Linked DNA regions of Homo sapiens: region 1 is linked to region 2. The links are contacts of gene promoters, found by promoter capture Hi-C in blood cells and fetal thymus (Javierre and others, 2016). All regions are on one chromosome and are shown on one strand. The core of a region is centred on a gene start or on the middle of the fragment in contact, and the rest is flanking DNA. Distances in the headings are between cores, read along the strand shown.

What was found. Contacts are between HindIII fragments. The CHiCAGO score rates a contact against its expected background, and 5 or more counts as called.
Region 1: a fragment that was not itself captured here is called in contact with the fragment with the promoter of PRKCE-AS1 in region 2 in 1 of 17 cell types (naive B cells); the score reaches 5.7 in naive B cells.

What each region holds. Positions count from the first base shown.
Region 1 is chr2:45,940,920-45,945,871 of GRCh38, forward strand. All of the region lies in intron 2 of PRKCE (protein kinase C epsilon), which reads left to right. Among named protein-coding and RNA genes, the nearest start is that of PRKCE-AS1, 270 kb to the left of the region's middle. The HindIII fragment of the contact is 5,163 bases long and covers 1-4,382 here.
Region 2 is chr2:45,672,243-45,676,892 of GRCh38, forward strand. PRKCE-AS1 (PRKCE antisense RNA 1) reads right to left here and starts at 3,278. Exons shown (of 2, transcript XR_940049.3): 1 at 3,068-3,278; 2 at 1,098-2,665. All of the region lies in intron 1 of PRKCE (protein kinase C epsilon), which reads left to right. RefSeq lists a silencer at 525-736. The HindIII fragment of the contact is 8,353 bases long and covers 1,465-4,650 here.

The DNA.
Region 1 (4,952 bases), core at 551-3,050, 270 kb after region 2:
GCCAGGCATGGTGACAGGTGCCTGTAATCCCAGCTACTTGGGAGGCTGAGGCAGGAGACTCGCTTGAGCCTGGGAGGTGGAGATTGCAGTGAGCCAAGATCATGCCACTGCACTCCAGCCTGGGTGACAGAGTGAGACTTCATCCTAAAAAAAAAAAAAAAAAAAAAAGATGATAGGCACCTATTCCCTACTGAACAAATGACTTATATACTAACCGAAAGAGGGCCACATGCTCCTGGGAACTGAAAGCAATACAGTAGCCTAGTTAATCCCTTGAAGAAGCACTCATGTGGCCACTTGCTCATGGATTTAACCCATTCTAGTGGCTGAGATCAGACCCAGACCTCAAGAAGCCAGCATGTGGTGCATGTGCAGTGACCAGAGCTTAGTGATCTGGGCATTTTCTGCATGTTCAACAAATATTGGATGGACATCATTGGTATATTCATCTATAGATTAGGTGATCTGAGGGCAGGTGAGAGGAAAAGACGTGGCCTCCAGCCTTAAGAAACTTATTACTCTTTGGAATGGGAGATCATACAGACCTACATCAAACCAGGCACGGACGGATGTTTATAAAGCGTTAGACTCTGCAGCTCAGAGAAAGCAGGGCCGTGAAGGGGTGGGCTTTGAGGAAGACACAGAACTTCAACGGAACCTTGAAGAATGGGCAGTTGAATTAACAAAGGGGAGGGGAGATTCAGTCAGCACAATTCCATCTGTTGAGGGACTGAGGACCTGCTGAGCTAAAGATGCTTTTTGTAAATTGAGTGGTGCCTGGGTCACTGAGCAATTCAAGCATGCACTGGAAGAGCCTGGGAGGGACTTGAAGTTAGGGCCTAGATAACCTCTACGGTCCACTGGAGTCCCAGAGTGGTCTGATTACATGACAGCCTTCCCTGGCTAGTTCTGTCTAGGAGGTCATAGATTCATTAATTATGGGGGAGGGGGAGGTTCTTTATTGGGATAAAATACACTAGCTGGAGGAGAGTTTTACCTCTTCTACCCTGATTAAAACAGGAGAATCAAGCAAGAGGCTGCTGCAGGTAGCTGAAGTTTTTTTCTGAGTTGGCTCCATCTTTCAAAGAGCTGTCAAAGCACATGCTTAGAAACCAAACCTAATTGCTGTTATGAATTTGTTAGTTTGAAGTACGGCACCTCTGGCATGGTCCATGGAATGTGAGCACTCTTGCTTAGAGATGTATGGGAGCCAGGCTTTGAAACATTTACGTCTCATGTTGATCTGAGGCAGTTGCTATAAGACATTGATTCTAATTCTACCTGTTACATGTTGACAGGCTGAATCGTTGTGCTAGTTAAGGTCCAAAAACACCAATTAGAGAAGCGTTTCTGGCCAAAGACAATGCTTATCTGGGTGCACCCTGAAATGCCTCAAAGTTTACATGTGGGTTAGGAGAATGACATCATGTGGCTGATGACTTCCAAATTGTGCAAGTGAGAAAAAAATCATATAGGCAGTATGTTCCTCCCTGAAATCCATTGAGAGGATATAAAAGAGCAAGTCTCTTGTAAATGTTATTATAATTAATGTTGTCATATTATGTGTGACATGTCATATATGAGGAACGTGCAGCCGTTGTGATGTGAAAGGTCCCTGTGGCTCTCATGAGGGGAACAGCAGGGGATGGCGTAGGGTGTGCACTCAGTAAATTACTGTTGGTCTAATGACGAGGTCCCCGCAGGAAGGATTAGAACACGAATGGAATACAAATTCCTCTCTTTCCTGTGCTTTGTTGTGTAAGCACGCTTTGTTTTATGATTCTGCGATTAACTCTTGGAAAAAGTCACTTAATCTTCTTGAGATTCAGTTTTTTTCAACAATAAAATGAATTATAATGCATTATGTTTATTATAGTACACATGTAACTAAATGAGTATATATATCAAAATTTTCTGTAAACTTCATTTTTAATTAAACATCAGTGGAAATATGCTTACAGTAAAACATTTAACAGTAACAGTGCTTTAAAAGTATAAAAGAAAAGTTGTCCCCCCAACCTCTTATTCTCCACTCCCCAGAAGTTAGCTGCTGCTGTTCTTAATATACTTTAGAAGTGTTGCACAAATACATGTGATCATAATTCCCATTTATTTCACATAATATTTCTACTTTTATGGCATTTTGTAAATTGATGAATCATTTTAGCCAAAGAGGATGATTGTATCTCGGCGCTAGGATTCAGCTGTGAAGATTCAGGAGGCTTTAAGAGCTCATTTTAGGTAATTTTCTGCTTTTGAATATTGTAGAAAAGAAATTCCTTTGTTAAAGGACACAATTAAATATACTCCAAAGCAGACTAACATTCATTTATTCCTTTATTTAAAAAATGATTTCGCAGTCATCATGTGCAAAGCAGTTACCCAGTCTATGAAAGTTTAGAACCATAGCGTCTAAGCCAGCACATAGGAGTTGCACGTGGGTCCTATAGCTCAGAGTACATCTGCCAAAAGAGGGATAGGGCAGAGGGCCACGGAACTCACTGTGAGCCCCTCTAGCCGGGGCTTAGGAAGGTCTGCCAGGGGGCGCTAACATTTGGACTTGATCTTGCAGGTTAGTTGTAATTTAGTTTTACAAGATTAACTATTTTTCTCCCACAAAGACTCAAAATGGTTGAGGTTACACATGCCAGAAACATGCCAGAATTCCTTCTTTCCAGAGCCTTTTTTTTTCTGTCTTAAATGTTTTCCAGTTCCACTGTCTCAGAGGCCTTTGAGGAGGACACAGAATATAAAGTTCTCACCAGACGCCAGGATATAACAAATGTCAGCTAAGTTACACGTCTTAGCAGAAACCAAGCCTCCTCTCCTGCTTTCTGGGTCCCCTTTGTCAGGAGAGTTCCCAGTTTGCAGAATGCACCAGACAGCAGCAGGGGAGGCTGTGTCTGTGTTAAGTAAACAAAGGTGAATTTGGAGTGACCGCGCAGTGAAACTGCCCAGTCTAGATCATCAACGCAGGATTGTTTAAGTTGTTCAAGCTAGAAAAGGCACAGAGTGTTTGGTCCACTCACGTGGTTTTACAGTTTTGGAAACTGAGGCATTGAGCTGTGATGTGATTCGTTCAAAGGCAGATAGATGGTGGGGGCGATGGCTGAGTCAGATGTGGAAAGAATATAGGTATTATGAATCTATTCCAGGACTCAACCATGTTGGCAACCCTGCAGGGCCATTCTATGCATATTCTTGACTAGATTCATTGATCCCAAAGCCTTTTAGGCCCGAATCACTTCGTTGGTGACTCATTTCTTCCCTCCATTCTGCTTTGACTGCTGTCCATTTGCTCCATTCGGACTTTTTGATGCTCCTTTTGTTCCCCATATTGTGGGGTGCCTCAGGGTTCCAGGGCTGTAGGAAAAGCCTCAGCGTCTCTCCAGCAGCAGGCATTCCTTATGCATGAGCTCTACAGGAAATGCTGTTGAGCCAGTATAGTATCTAAGGCACAGCTCAGACTGGAGTGATGGCTATGCTGGTATACAGTTTTCAAAACTTATTGACTCGTAAACTTAAGATCTGTACGTTTTACTTTATGTAAATTCGTCCTCAATTTATTTTTATGTATTTAGTTTTTTGAGACAGGGTCTTGCTCTGTCGCCCAGGCTGGAGTACAGTGATGTGATCTCAGCTCACTGCAACCGCAGCCTCCCAGGCTCGAATGATACTCCCGCCTCAGTCTCCCAAGTAGCCGGGACTACAGGTGCGTGCCACCATACCCGGCTAATTTTTTTTTTTTTTTTTTTTTTTTTTTGTAGAGACAGGATTTTGCCATGTTGCCTAGGCTAGTCTCGAAGTCCTGGGCTCAAGCGATCCATCCACCTTGGCCTCCCAAAGTGCTGGGATTACAGGCATGAGCCACTGTGCTGGGCAATCCTCAATTTAAAAACAAAAACACAAAAACCTCAAGTGACTTCACTTATAAATCTTTGGACATTTAGGTTGGCGGATTCCCTTTGAAACCATTTTGCAAATGGATACAGAGGTGGCCCTAGGTAGAGTGGGGACACCTGTTTTTGTGCCCTCAGCCTTCCCTATCCCTGCCCTTTTCCTTTCCAGTAATGCTTCTTCCACTTCTTGTTCCTCTTTCAACTTCCCCCCTTCCTGAGCCTTCCATTGCCAAAACTTTCTCGCATTAGGCAGGGAAACGATGGCCACACCAATGCATTAAGAGTAAGATGTGTTCTGTGAGGATTTCAGTTTCAGAGGAACACCTGGGGAAGGCTGCTGTGTGAGTCCATTCTTGCCTTGCTATAAAGGAATTATTGAGGCCGGGTAATTTATAAAGAAAAGAGGTTTAATTGGCTCACAGTTCTGCAGGCTGTACAAGCATGGCACCAACATCTGCTTGGCTTCTGGTGAGGGCCTCAGGAAGCTTACGATCATGGCAGACGGTGAAGGGGAAGCCAGCATGTCACATGGCGAGAGCTGAAGCAAGAGCGGGGAGGTGTCATACTCTGTCAAACAACTGGATCTCATGTGAACTCAGAGTAAGAACTCTTGTTATCAGGACAGCCCCAAGCCATTCATGAGGGATCCGCCCTGTGACTCAAACACCTCCCACCAGGTCCCACCTCCAACATTGGGGATTACACTTCAACATCAGATTTGGAGAGGACAAACGTCGAAACTATATCAGCCAGGCTACACCACAACCACAGCCGTCACTGGTTGAGCACATGCTATGTACCAGGCACCATACTAAGTGCTTTCCATGAGCTATCACGTTCAACCCTCACAGTCCCCTGCAAGGCAGGTACTCTTATTACCCCTTCCTCAGAGAAGTTTTAAAGAGATGCTGCATAACTGTGCTCCACTGGTGGGGGGCCAGATTAGAACACAGGCATCTGGCAAAGCCAGGGCTGTCTGTCTTTATACAACCCCTTGACAGAAAAGAATGACTTGTTAATGGTGGAATGTCCTGTACTGATGGGGGAAGACCA
Region 2 (4,650 bases), core at 2,028-4,527:
TATGCATCCATCCATCCATCCATCCATCCATCCATCCACCCACCCATCCATTCATCCATCTCTATATCCATCCATCCATCCACCCATCAATTCGTCCATCCATCTCTTCATTCATCCATTCATTCATCCATCTCTACATCCATCCATCCATCCATCTATGTATCCATCCATCCATCTATTCATCTATCTCTCCATCCATCCATCCAGCCAGCCAGCCAGCCAGCTGGACAGCCAGGCAGCCAGACAGCCTGTCAGTTTATTGGTCATATAGTTGATGCTAATGCCATGTGTCTAAAATTTTTAGTAAGGGAGTCTGATTTATTATTATCATTATTATTTTCAATTTGCTTTTCAGCTATTGACTGAGGTTGCGGCAATTGACCAGACTACCCTGTGGGCTGATAAAACCTGAAACTTGTCTATTTGGTTGAGATTACCATTTGTCTGTCCCTCAGTGGCTGGTCTTTACATGTCAAGAGGATGGTAAAAACTGCCATAAGGGACTGAACACAGTGCCTCACGCCTGTAATCCCAGCACTGTGAGAGGCTGAGGTGGGAGGATAGCTTGAGCCAGGAGTTTGAGACCAGCCTGGGCAACGTAGTAAGAGCCAGTCTCTAAAAAAATTTTTAAAAATTAGCTGGGTGTGGTGGCATGCATTTGTAGTCTCAGCTGCTCCAGGAGGCTGAGGCAGGAAGACTGCATGAGCCCAGGAGTTTGAGGCTGTGGTGAGCTATGATGGCACCACTCTACTCCAGCCTGGGCAGCAGAGCAACAGAGCAAGTCCCTGTCTCTAATAAAAACAAACAAACAAACCAAAAACCACAGTGAGAGATTTTTTTTTAAAGACTCCTCCACTCCTTTTTTTGGGTTACATTGTTTTTGTTCCCCCTACTTTCTGAACTCTCTGGAGTGTCAGGATACTTTGACTTTTGTGATTCAATCAGCCTACTGCAATGGTAGATTCTTCCTTTCAAGTTGTAACTCTTCCCTTGGAGCAGGGTTTCCCAAAATGTGTTCCAAACAATATAAGAAGTGAATAGGTCATTCACACTCAAAAACGAATGCCATAATCAAGTGAATTTGGAAAACCATAGAGTAAATGAAGCTAAACATTTATTGCAGGACTTTTTTTTACAGCCTTCGATAGGCTATTTTCCATCAGTTTTCTGGATGGCAATTGAGCGAGCAGTGTTTCCAACTGTATTTGATTGTTCAACACACATTTAGGGACAGTACTTACATCTCTTGATGTCATTTGGGAAACACTGTCTTAGAATCTGGACCCTACTATTTAAAGTTAATACGACATATTTAGGGCTGCTGGCCAAGAGAAACTAACATGGTGAGGAGGAAATAATCATTATCCATTTATGTTAATATTTTTATCATAAAGACTAAAACTTTGTTTTTTAAACTAGGATCCCAAGTGTTGTTTATAGACACTTGACTACAGAAGAGAGAAAAGCTTAGGTTGAACAAGTGTTTGTAGAGTATATGAAAATAGAAGTGCAAACAAGGCCCCTATTAGCCAGATTTTCTGAATAATATTCTAGGAGTTCATCCTTGTTCTGTCTTTAGTGAGTGACATTTATAAAGCAGTAGCAAAGCCAATATCATGGTTCCAGGGATCGTTCCTATGGAATTACATTGGCTGAGGACAGAGACCCACTCTTCCTCCTCTTTCCTGAATCAGGTCAGGGTGAATATTATCCAAGTGCAATTGAACTCTTGCTCCTTCTGTTCACAAATCAATTGTTGCTTGATTGGACCCAGAATGTTTGCTGCTCATCAACTCTCTTTTGAAGGTGTATCTCAATATTTCATTTCCTTGTGTTTATTGGAAAATATTTTTTAAAAGCTACTTGCAAAGATGTAAGCGTGATCATTGGGGTTGACTTGCGGCGAAAATGTGAAGGAGTCAAAGACTGATTTCAGGTTTTGTGCACGCTCCTTCCACTTCTGAGCCCCTCCAAGCCTGGGGCCCAGCCAGGATTCCTCACTTCCTCTTGGCTGAGTATAAACTCATTTACACTGAGGTAGATGGCCGTAATGAGATATATAAGACTGGTGCTTTAGAAGAGTGCTGTGGAGGAGGCCTTCCTTTATCTGGAGGGTGACATGGCAATGTCTGGAATTTTCAGATATCAGTGACAGGAAAAGATGGACTTTTGGGTCAAGAGGACTCTGTCAAACCAGGTACTAACTGGAGACCAGGCTATTTCTGAGATCATACTCTGTGTCAAGGGCTAGGGATCTTTACATGAGCCTTCAATTGTAAGTCAGGGCCCAACTCACTGTGGTCAGTGCATATATTTCTAGATTACCTCACTTTGGAAATGCTTGTCTCCCCACTCTGTGAGGGATTAGTGCTTCTCCACTTTAAAGGAAAAACAGGTCATAAATTACTGAGGAATTTTATGGCACAGCCCAAAGCACAGATTGGAGGCCAAGGAAAAATAAAACTCCAGCTTCTTTATGAAAGTCAAATGGAAAAGAGAAGATGCTTCCTGAAAAGAGGTGGGCACTGCTTGAGGGAGAGGAGGGAAAGGACTCTGAGTGAGTCTACAGGAACTCCTTTTGGTGTCCTTGAGGAGTTTATGAGAATTCTCGGCCTCATCTTGATAAACTTGAAGGCAAAGTGAAGCAGGCAGTTGAACTGTTTGTCTGGGAAATGGATGAGAGACATGATTATTTTTGGTAGCAAGATTTTCTGTGTTTGGATTATGCATGTTATAAATCCAGTATCTTAATTTCCATTTGCCTTGGGTGATCCATATGCCTAATTTTAATTCAATGCTGATTAAATGTCAGAGAAGGAAAGGAAGGGATGAGGTGAGAGTTTCCAAGCCTGGCTGACCAGGAAGACAGCAGGCAGATCTTGGAGACTGGACCTCATCAATTATAAAGAGAAAAATCCCCTGTAAGTTACAAAACAAAATAGCACAAGAAAACACTCTGTAGATGTACATTAAGCCGTCTCCTTTCCAGAAAACGTTTCCCCAGACCAGGAAGACCCAGCGTGCCCCTTAGCACCTTAGCCCAGGCCTTCAGCTCTTCTCAGCTCACCTTTTTCTCCAGTGAATAAACATGATGCTGTTTTTAAGTCTTTGCTTCCTTGTTTCTAGCCCATGTTTTACTCCAGAGCAGTGAGGGCACTTGTGACCAGCTTTGGGGAGATGAATACACTGTCATTTATACATAAATGCACTGTCATTTATCATTTCAGAATTGGAGTGAATTCTAAATGAATCATAACAGTTGCATTTAATGAATTATTCTCCTGGGTATTGGCTAATTTTAAACCGGTCTGACGAGTTTTAAGGTCCATGTGGTTTGAGGAAATTCAGTGGTGCATTTCCCGGTTTGGTCCTCCTCATTTCCCTCCAGCCCTGCTCCTTTTCAACATGCCAGGCTGCTTGGCTGGGTTATCTTTAATCACTGTAGGTGGGAGGAGGGGAGGCGGGGAGGTACTGGGCCCAAGGTCATGCCAGAAGAGTTCAGGCCTCTGCTTGTCATCTGGCACTGCTCAGAATTCCCAGGGGTCTCCGGGGAGCTGGCCCTCAGCTCACAGATGGGCCTGACTTTGGTGAGAGGTGGCCTTCCACCAGGAAGCCTCCAGCTGGCAGGATAGGTGGGTGGGGAGGGGTGAACTTTGGCTGTGGAAGCGTCTCAGCATTTTACTCCCCTTTTTCAATAGTTGCTGCCTCCACTCCACGCTTTTATTCAAGCAGCACCGGTACCTGGCAGTAGCTCCTACAATGTTTTCTACATTGGCTCTAAAATCATGGCCTAGTAGACACCAATGCTTGACTTGTTTTTTTGTTTGTTTGTTTTGAGAAGTTGTTTACCATTGGCGTGACGGGATTTTCTTGGCCTTGTGAAGTACAGGGAGCCTCAGGATAGCTTCACTGGGGGTGTCATTACATGGTCATTATCAGTGGTAAGTTTCCCAGTCTCAAGATGGAACCCTCTGTTGCTTCTCTGCCGCGTGTTTGGCTCTGTTGACCTTCCATTGCTCACCTGTGCTTGTTCCCCCAGCAGCCTGTTTCTTGTAACTATTTGCCTCATAATGCAAGTATTCTAGTGATTGAAGTGTTGCTGTGCAAAAGAGATCTTTTAAACTGAAACCAGTGCAACAAAACAATTTAAAACATTTTAATAATTTCTTAAAGGATACAGAGCCTTTTCCTCTCTTAATACATGCAGGTCAGAATGACGTCAATAAGGATTATATTTTTGCATTAACAGGAAAACTAAGTTTATAAGACTAGAGTATGGATAGAGAGGAAGATGGTTCTATTGGGATATAAACTCTGATCCATACATGGAAGTAGCCCAGTCCGTACAAACACCATTGCCTGTTTCATTCTTGACTGGACATACATATTGCCCCATTGTGATGAAAGGTTGTGATAATGAAGAGAGTAATAGAAGGCTCAGCTCAGGTTCTAAGGAGGGAGCGAGTAAAGGCCATGCAGGCCCATCCTTCTGTGGTCAGTCACTGCTGGTTGGGGAAGGAAGGAGGTATCAAGTGTCTCCATTCTTTCCTCTTTTCTTCATAGTTTCTAGATCATTCATTTAATAAATCATTAGGGAGCCCCTGCCATCAAGCTAGGTCTTGGGATATAACCAGGAACATGCCTAGATAG